2 separate regions of the Homo sapiens genome follow, and region 2 is linked to region 1. The links are contacts of gene promoters, found by promoter capture Hi-C in blood cells and fetal thymus (Javierre and others, 2016). All regions are on one chromosome and are shown on one strand. Each heading gives the region's core, a stretch centred on a gene start or on the middle of the fragment in contact. The rest is flanking DNA. Distances are from core to core; before and after follow the strand shown.

Evidence for each region. The method cuts DNA at HindIII sites, captures the fragments that hold promoters and counts their contacts. A CHiCAGO score of 5 or more calls a contact.
Region 2: a fragment that was not itself captured here is called in contact with the fragment with the promoter of KIFC2 in region 1 in 1 of 17 cell types (fetal thymus); the score reaches 5.5 in fetal thymus.

Annotation. Positions count from the first base shown.
Region 1 is chr8:144,464,251-144,468,954 of GRCh38, reverse strand. KIFC2 (kinesin family member C2) reads right to left here and starts at 2,618. Exons shown (of 18, transcript NM_001369769.2): 1 at 2,437-2,618; 2 at 2,117-2,195; 3 at 1,845-1,996; 4 at 1,614-1,752; 5 at 1,325-1,470; 6 at 1,176-1,241; 7 at 968-1,096; 8 at 549-626; 9 at 305-419; 10 at 121-230. The coding sequence starts at 2,535. It overlaps TMEM276-ZFTRAF1 (TMEM276-ZFTRAF1 readthrough), which reads left to right and starts at 3,254. Exons shown (of 5, transcript NM_001408018.1): 1 at 3,254-3,384; 2 at 3,859-4,146. The coding sequence starts at 4,054. It overlaps TMEM276 (transmembrane protein 276), which reads left to right and starts at 3,463. Exons shown (of 3, transcript NM_032687.4): 1 at 3,463-3,602; 2 at 3,859-4,146; 3 at 4,343-4,704. The coding sequence starts at 4,054. RefSeq lists enhancers at 1,625-1,724, 1,415-2,251, 4,450-4,704 and silencers at 1,895-1,954, 2,025-2,334, 2,385-2,944, 3,005-3,134, 3,205-3,464 and 1 more. The HindIII fragment of the contact is 25,846 bases long and covers 1-4,704 here.
Region 2 is chr8:144,993,269-144,997,996 of GRCh38, reverse strand. It overlaps the pseudogene ZNF252P and the pseudogene TMED10P1. Among named protein-coding and RNA genes, the nearest start is that of ZNF252P-AS1, 7.2 kb to the left of the region's middle. The HindIII fragment of the contact is 3,899 bases long and covers 1-3,415 here.

The sequences.
Region 1 (4,704 bases), core at 1,369-3,868:
AGCTGTTTGGGTTCCAGAGCCCCACTTATTAGTACAGCCAACTCCCCAGGAACGCCCCCGTCAAAAGAACAGTGAATAGGCTGCCCAGAGAGGAGGGGCTAGGCGGGGAGGGGTCCTGACCTGGCCCCGGGCCTCACTCAGCGAACCCTGACAGCTCTGGGTAAAGGTGCTGACCAAACCTCGGAGGTCCCCGCAGCCCTGACGCAGGCTGGCCATCCGTGCCCGAAGTCCTGGAGAGGGAAGTCTGTTGGAAGGGAAGGCCCAGCCTCCAGGGCCTCCCATGAGCCCCAACCCCAACCCTTACCTGCCAGCTGCCCATGCATCTGCTGTAGCTCACGCCTGCAGTTCTGCTCCGTCTCCTGCTGGAGCTGCTGGAGGGCCCCTTGAAGGCCCTGCAGCTGCACCTCCTGCACCCCCAGCTGCCCCGCCCAACCCCACCCCTGTCACTGAGGAAACAGGCACTTACCAGGCCCTGCCTCAGATAAGCCCCTCCCAAAACCCCAGCCCGCCTCACCCCTGAGCCATGGATCCCTGGGCCCCATGCCCACCTGGGCTCGGAGGGCTTCTGTGGTGTCTTGGGCCTCCTGAAGCCGGCCCTGGAGCTCTAGCAATGCCTCTGCCTCCTCCTGCGGGAGGGTGGGGGCCAGGAGGGACTCAGAGAGGGACGGTCTGTGGTACCATTTCACAGATGGGAAAGTCAAGTCAAGAGGTGGGCAGAGCTGGCTGTGAACCCATGCCTCCCAGCTCCACGCAGACCTCCTTCCCACAGTCCCTCTGCTCTCCTGGGGTCAGCCACTCAGAGGGGCCACGGAGAGGGGGGTCTTCCCATTGGCATCAGCCTCCCTGATGGGGCTGCCCTACACAGACCATCCCGGGAGGTCCTGAGGAGGCTCGGGCCCTGTGGCTGCATGCCAGGTGTGCAAGAGCCCCAGGCTGCAGGAACGGCTGCAGCTCGGGAGCAGAGTACCTGCGGAGCCCTGATGGGGGGCCCGGGGCCCCAGTGCAGCAGGAGGTCCCGCATGAGACTCAGGCTCTGCTTCAGGGCCTCGTTCTCCAGAGTCAGATGCTGAACCCTTTTCTCTGAGTCCGTCGCCCCCTGGTGGAGAGGAAACCTCGGCACTCACCTGAAGCACCCCCTCCATGCCCGGCCCTGCCAGGTCTCCCTGCAGCCTCACCACGCCCAGGCGCAGTCGACCCAACTCCTCCTCCTGCTGTTCCAGCTGCTGCTTCAGCTCCTCCAGCTGGGGAGAAGTAAGAGAGACAGGGTGGACCTCCTTTTTCTGGCGTCCCAGCCGGCAATCCCTTCTGGCTCCAGGGACCTCACCTGTCCCAGGATGAGCTGCTCCAGCCGCTGCCACGCCCTCTGATCCTCCTCCAACTGGAGGGGCTGCTGTCCCTGGGTCTCATCCCCCAGTGGCTCGCCTGGGACTGCGGTGAAGTGGGAAGGGCTTTCTTCTTGGGATGTGGATCCTGGAGTAGGGTGGGCCCAGTTAGCACTGAAGAGGTCTCTAGTCCAAATCTTCCGGAACATGACCCCGAACTCCAGGCCGCCCAGGTTCTACCGGGATTTGCTCCCTCCAGAGTTCTTCTTCAACTTACTGTCCTTTACTCACCATCTGGAGAGGGGGGCCGGACCCGAGGGGCTGGCTGAGTCCCCTGGAGCAGGGCCTGCCTCCCCCTGGGGCTTCGAAGCCATGCCAGAAGGGCCAAGAGCTGACTGGTCACTGTCAACAGTGAGGGGACCTCGCCAGACTGCGAAGGAGACAAGAATCCGAGCAGGGCTGTGAAAGCCAGGAAGGCCGGGGCAGGTGGTACCTGCCAGCAGCCCCCTCCGCCGCGCTCACCTGGCCCAGGTCCGCCGGGCCCCCGCAGCTCTCTTCCGCCCCCAGCTGGACGGAGAGGAACTCGGCGAGGCGCAGTAGGGCCTCTTCCAGGGACACCGCGGCCGCGCGGCCCTCGGCTGCGCCTTCCGACCCATCCTCAGGCTCGGAGCTGGCTGCCGGTCAGGGAGGAGGGCGGGAGACATTTCGGGTCACGTGCTTGAGCCAGGCCTCCGCCCCTCCCTGGGAGGTCCCGGCACCGCCCTCGCACCGCGGGACTCCCAGCCCGCACCTACCGGCCAGGCCGGTCAGCTCGGTCCACAGCTCTGGCGCGGGCAGGTCTGGGCGCCGGCGACCCCGGGGCTTGCGGGCTCTCTAGGGAGGGGGCAGGGGCGCCCCTGAGGAGGGGGGCAGGCAGCCTGCTGGCCCCTTCCCTCCGCGAACCGGGCCGGAGGATTGGGGCCGAAGTCTACGCTTCCAGCATCGGGGCCGAGCCGAGGGTCCTCGGCACGGCCCCGTCGCCCCGCGCCCCGTGCCCGCCCCCGCCCCGGGAACCTCGGCGTGGGGGTGGGGCAGGCGGCGGGAGACGACGGGCTGCACGGCCAGCCCCGCTCACCTGGGCGGGGTCCCCGGGCTCCGCGGCCGCCGCGGCGCCACCATCCCTGCGGAAGAGGCTGTAGAAGATGTAGATGAGCAACGAGTAAAAGGCGTACATGGGAGCGCGGGGCGGCAGAGGGCCCCGCTTCGCGCCGCCCCGCGTCCCCGCGCCCAGACTCGGCGCCCGCCCGCCGCAGTGCCGGTGCGCATGCTCGCGACGGCCGCCCCCACGGCCCGGCTCCCACGGCTGGAAGGCGAGCGCGGGGACGGGGGTACTAGAAACAGGTGCCCGCGGCCGCACCTGGAGACCCGCCGTTTCTCACGGCGCCGCCCGGCGCGCCCCAACCCCTACACCGCGGACACCGGGCTGAGAGCGCCCACGGCTCCCGCGACCCTCCTCTCGGAATCCCTCCCACCCTCCGCGTAGTCCCCCACCGCTCCGGTTTCGCGGAGCCTTCAACACGCCGGGGTTCTCCTTCCTCTCCCTACAGCCCCGCCCATCTCAGCCCCGCCCATCTCAGCCCCGCCCAGACCCCCCCTCCTCGCAGCCCCGCCCAAACCCCGTTCCTTGCAGCCTCGCCCAGGCTCCTCCCCTCTCGGTCCCTCTCAGTCTCGCCCAGACCCCTCTCCTCGCAGCCCCGCCCAGGCCCCGCCCCTCGCAGCCACGCCCAGACCCCCCCATCGCATCCTCGCCCAGGCCCCGCCCCACCCAGGCCCCCTCCCTCTCAGACCCGCCGCTCTCAGCCCCGCCTAAACCTTATCTCCCTCAGCCCCGCCCAGACCCCCCGCCCCTCGCAGCCCCGCCCAGACCCCGCCCCTCGCAGCCCCGCCCCGGCCCTTCTCCCCTCATCACGCTCCTTCCAAACCACTATGCCCACGCACGCACCCACCCAAACAGAGCGTTTTCTGGTCCCCGAGCTCCTCCCGACCCCACCCGCTCCTACGGCCTCCAACCGGCCCCCCCCAGGTCTCGACCCTCTCCCCCAGGCCTCGACCCTCCCCCCCCAGCCGCTCTAGCCCCGCCCGGCCGCTCTAGCCTCCGCTCCTCTCGCTGGTGGAGGTTCCCGACCGCGCTCGCTCCCGCAACTGGGGGCACGGCAGAGGAGGCAGGGCCGACGGCGGTGGGCGGTGCGTTGCGCAGGCTCGGGCCTCCCGCTCGCCGCTGCGTTGGGACCGCGCAGCCCGGTAACTGCGCACGGCTGGCCTCCCGGAGTCCTGCGCCGTCGCTCCTCCTGGACCCGGGTTCCCAGGACAACGCCTCCCGGAACGCAGGGAGCAGGCCGAGGCCGCCGCGTGGGCCTGCAGCGCCTCGCCGCTCTCTCTTCCCCAGGCCCGCACTCCCACTTGGGCTCCAGGGCCCCAGGGCTGACGTTCCCCCCAGCTTAGACCCTGAGTCGTTTTCCCCCGTTTCCCGGCTGAATTAGGTTCTTCTTCTCCACAGGTGTGTGCAGTGGCCTCAGGGATCCGGAAAGTCTAGGACTGAACTTCTCCTAACATCCAGTAATGGGGACCTGGAACCTGGGCTTACTAGAGTGCCGCGCGTAGGGCTCCAGGTCGCTGGCTTCTGCGCTTCCTTCCTCTCCAAAGTTGAGTATCTCCTATCTGTGTCCTCGTACATACTGCCGCCTGAGGTGCCATGGCCCCCAAGCCGGGGGCCGAGTGGAGCACAGCCCTGTCCCATCTGGTGCTGGGAGTGGTGTCTCTGCACGCAGCCGTGAGCACAGCCGAGGTGAGTACACTGGGGCTGAGCAGGGGCGCATCCCCATACCTCCCAAACCCCAAGGACCTAGTTTCCTGAATTAGAGAGAGGTTGGTGGGAAGTGCGTCTAAGACCAGGTCTCCATGGAAGCCCCAAACCCTTTCCTGTTTAAAAGGGTGACCCCGGCCTCTTTTTCCCACGTGTTCTCCCTTCCCTGTGTTGACAGGCAAGTCGAGGGGCTGCTGCTGGCTTCCTGCTCCAGGTCTTGGCTGCCACCACCACGCTGGCCCCAGGGCTGAGCACACACGAAGACTGCCTTGCTGGAGCCTGGGTGGCCACCGTCATCGGCCTTCCCCTTCTGGCCTTCGATTTCCACTGGGTGAATGGGGACCGCTCCTCTGCCAACCTGCTCCTGGGAGGAGGCATGGTGCTGGCAGTGGCTGGCGGCCACCTCGGCCCTGAGGGCCGCTCTGTGGCTGGTCAGGCAATGCTGTTGGTGGTCGCAGTGACCATCCTCATTGTAGCTGTCTTCACGGCCAACACTTATGGGATGTGGGGGGGGGCGATGCTGGGTGTGGCAGGCCTCCT
Region 2 (4,728 bases), core at 217-2,716, 530 kb before region 1:
GCAAGACTCTGTCCCAAAAAAAAAAAAAAAAAAAAAAAAAAGTTTAAGAATGGAATCCAAGTAGACTTGGATGTACCCTCTGTAACTTAGTATATGTAATACTACATGTAGACTTTCTCAACATCTGCTGCCTATGGTAAGGATCTGCAGCCAGGTTCTCAGAAGCAGTACCTACCAATTCTTAACAGCAGGTGGCAATGTTGTACAAGTTAACGACAGAACTACTTTTATGCCACATGAGAGGAAGATACAAGGAGTCAAAAGGGGGAAAAAAACAGGTTTGGGTTCATAGTAGCAGGAACATGAACAGAATAGCCTGAGATTTTAACAACATAACTCATTCCCTCTTCCACCTTTGTACTTTATCCAGGTCAACACATCAGGGTTCTCTAACAATTCCAGTATTCTGCTTCTTTACTGTAAAATACATGTAATTCTTGCCACTGTGATTAAATAAGCCCTGTGATAGCAGGGTTAAAAAGAGATTACAGAAAGGATAAACTCTACCTACTTTCTTGAGAGATGTGGGAAAGATTTCAAGTGACAGCATTTTTCATAGCTGTTTATAAACATGGTCATTTATATCCACATTTTCTCTTATTTACATTAGTTTTGGCCCTTAGGCACCTCATACTCCTACAGTGATTATTGGCTTTGCTTTCATTGGCTTTGTATTTTTAAGTATTTACCCTCTTAATGGCCCTCCTAGATATCTATTTTATACATCATATTTCTTAATTATCTAGATGGAACACTGAAGGACAGGAATTAAGTAAGTGACTGGCCATGCAAGAAGAGTTGTAAATTTTACTTATTTTTCCTTGGTAGAAGTTATGTTAAAAATTCAAGCAACCACGTATCTAACAGAAGAGTTTTATCTAGGATGTATAAAAAAACTCTGAAAACTCAATAGTAAAAAGAACAAATGACCTAAATAGAAAATAGACAAAAGACATGAGCAGACATTTCACTGAAGAGGATGTGTAGATGGCAAATTAGCACACGAAAAGATACTCAACATCATTAGCCATTGGAAAATGCAAATTAAAACCACATGTGGTATCATTACACACATCTATATGAATGGTTAAGATAAAAAATAGTAGTAATACCAAACGCTGGTGAGGATGTGAAGAAACTGGATCAGTCATACATTGCTGTATGAATTGTATGAGTGGCTGTATGTAAAAGGTACAGCCACTCTGGAAAAAAGAGTAGGGTAGTTTCTTACAAAGATATACGTGTTTACCACACAACCCAGCAATTGCCCTTTTGGGCATTTATCCCAGAAAATGAAAATGTGTGTTCACATAAAAACCTGTACATGAATGTTCACAGCAGCTTTATTAGTAAGGGCAAAAAACTGAAAACAACTCTTTTGTCCTTTAGTAGGTGAATGGTTAAGCAAACTGTGGTACATCCATACCATGGGATACGACTCAACAATCAAAAGGAACTGCCCAGACTTCACCACGATGCAATATATGCATGTAAGAAATCTGCACTTATACCCCCTAAATATATAAAACATTTTTAAAAGAAAAAAAGGAAGAAGATACATGCAACAACTTGGATGGATTTCAAGGGAATTATGCTGAATGAAAAAAAGTCAACCTCATAAGATTACATTCTATATGATTCCATTCATATGACATTCTTGAAATGACAAAATTACAAAGATGGAAGACAGAACAGTGGTAGCCACAGGTTGGGGTGAGGGGATAAGAAAGGGATGTGGCTGTGGCTGTAAAAGCGCAGCACAAGGGATCCATGTGATAGAACTGTTCTGTCTCTTGTGATGGTGGTCACATGAATCTACACATGATAATACTGCATATAATTGTCTAAAATGACATTTTCTTCAAGAGTTATCTACAGTTTAAAGCTCACTTTTATGAAGTGTCACATCCATCACCATTTTAAGAGACATAAAATCATGAAAAGATATCACCAGAAGCTACGTAAACATTTCAGCTAAGGGTAAAGAGAAAGTTAAGAGTGTTTTCACAAGGAAATTGAAAGAAGGCAATCCGAATGAAGTCAACTTGGTCACACAAAAATCTTGGTAAAAGAACTAGAATGGAAGCCCAAACTGCTGAGCAAGTGGGAGAAGAAAAGAAAACTTGGTTCAAACAGATCACACAAGGGAACCCAGGACAAATGCTGACTTTGGCATTATCTAGGTAACCCTTTTTTTTGTCATAGGTGACTCTAATAATAGACCTGTTGTTGCAAAACCAGTCAAAATCCTACCAAATTAAAAAGAAGTCCCTCATTGACTTGTTGGGTGTAGGTGGTACCCCATGTCCTCGCACACCAAAAGAGATCATTTCTGGCAAGAAAGCTCCTACATGCCTTGATGGTGCTGCTGGTAGGATGCCTTAGGCCAGGCCCATCCCAGCGATGTTCTGCTGGCTGTGGTAAAAGGTGGGAGGAGAATATGCCTTATTCATTACTCAATCAACTTCTTAGCCTTGAAGAAGCATCACAGGTAGAAGACCTGCCAGGTGGCTAGTCCAGTGAGGCAGAACATTGAAAAGATGCTGAAGTGTAGGACCCAAGTGTTTGTTGACTCACTGGTATCACCATCTCCTCTTCTCTCTTCTTCATGTAGGCAAAATCATTAACAATAGATTCTGAAAGGTCTTCTAGGTGTCGCAGCTTCACCTCTAATGGTTTGAGCTTCTCAACTTTTGCAATCTCTCTGTAATTTTTCACCTCCACTCCATGCTTCATGTCTAGGATCACAAGTTGGTCAGGTATCTGCCCTGTTTCCTTGCTCTCAAAACACACTTCAAACATGTCATAATCTTCAGTGGTAAAGGCAAATTTCCCCTTGGTTGTATTCTTTTTGGAGTAGAAAATATGGCCAGCAGAATCTGTGATCTTGAGGTGGCTGCACAGGCCACCAGTGCCCCCAGACTGGTCAGAGATCTCGTATGTGCCAGTCACTAGTAGGTCCTTGTGGATCTCCTCATGGAAGCAGTTGTGAGAATTAATGGACAGATGGAAGGAGATGGCGAGGACCAAGCTGGGGCCCAGCAGGAACAAAAGCAGCAACGCCGATGGACAAGGGCCATGCCGGGCTGGTGGGCCAGACAAACCAGACATGGTGCTGGAGACTCATTCCCCCTTTAGCCCTTCTGCTGGGGATCAACACCCACTACTATGAGTCCTCTACCATGATGTGTTCAGGCCCCAACACTGTCCTATCTATGCTCCCCGTCCTCCTGAAAAGCTAGTTTTGACCTTTCCTCAGCTTAGGCAGAGGCCTGTGTCTTTCTCCACGGTTAGAGACCAGGTGGCAGGGAAGGACACAACCAGCACAAAGACTCAGACCACAGGTCCATCCTGCCCTCTACCTGGGATGACTTTTCAGGTCTTGCTTCCTTTCTCTGGAGCAGGACTTCAAGCTTCCAAACCTGATGTCATCTCCAGGCTGGAGCGGGGGGACGAACCATAGACCCCTCACATCCTGAGAACTCAGGGGAGCTGGAGCTGGAGGCACAAGAGAGAAGGTGAGTCTGCCCCCACTCTCTGCTTCTGTGGTAGGTGCTGCAGCTTCACTCACGAATCCCTTCTCTACAAGCCCCAGACAAATCTCTTGTTACCCTCAGGCCTTTGCTTTCCTCCTCCTTTTTCTATCTTGTCCTCTTTCCTTGCTGTTATTTGCCCCTGTTATCTGCCCATAAGTAGGTTTGTGTTTTATTTACCCTAGAAAAATGCTATTTCAGCCACAAAAAATAGTTCAAGTGTCCTTCCCAGGCAGCTGGCTCCCAGTCCCTTCACTTCTATGTCATCCACTCCTTAGGCTGTTTGGGAAAAATGCTAATTACATTTTTCCTCTGCTCTGACACCACAACAACAATCAACAAAGACTTCGTGACCAAATGTATGGAGGGTTTTTCCCATGTTCCAAGCAGCTCTAATTCAATTCAATTCTGGTGCTCTCTTGGAGATAGCCTCAGATCCCACAGGCTGAGGGCTCAGTCTCTGAGACTGTCCACTCAAGGCACTAGTTGTAAGTTCGGGGTTTCCAAACTTGAGACCAAAAGGATTCAAGTTGGGGTTCCCATGACCCTCACTTTGGGTTCTATTAATTTGCTGGAGCATCTCACAGAACTCAGGGAAACACTTAGATTTACAAGTTTAGGCTGGGCGCAGTGGCTCATGCCTGTAATCCCAGCAATTTGGGAGGCCGAGGTGGGCAGATCACTTGAGGTCAGGAGTTCGAGACCAACGTGGCCAATATAGTGAAACCCCGTCTCTACAAAAGATACAAAAATTAGCCAGGCATGGTGGTGTGCATCTGTAGTCTCAGTTACTTGGGAGGATGAGGCATGAGAATCACTTGAACCCAGGAGGCAGAGGTTGCAGTGAGCTGAGATCATGCCACTGCACTCCAGCCTGGGTGGCAGAGTGAGACCCTGTCTCAGAAAAGAAAAAGAAAGATTTACCAATTTATTATAAAGGATAAAGATGAAGAAATGTGTAAGCTGAGGTATGGGGGAAGGGGTGCAGAGTTTTCATGCCCTTCCTGGGTGCATCACCCTCTAGGATCCTGTCCACTTAGCTATCCAGCAGCTCTCTGAACCCTGCCCTCTTAGGTTTGTATAGAGGCTTTATTATGTAGGTATGATTGATTAAACCATTGGCCATTGGTGATAAACTTAACCTTTAGCTCCTTTCCCCTCTCTTGAGTTTGGGGCATTGGAGCTGAGAATCCCA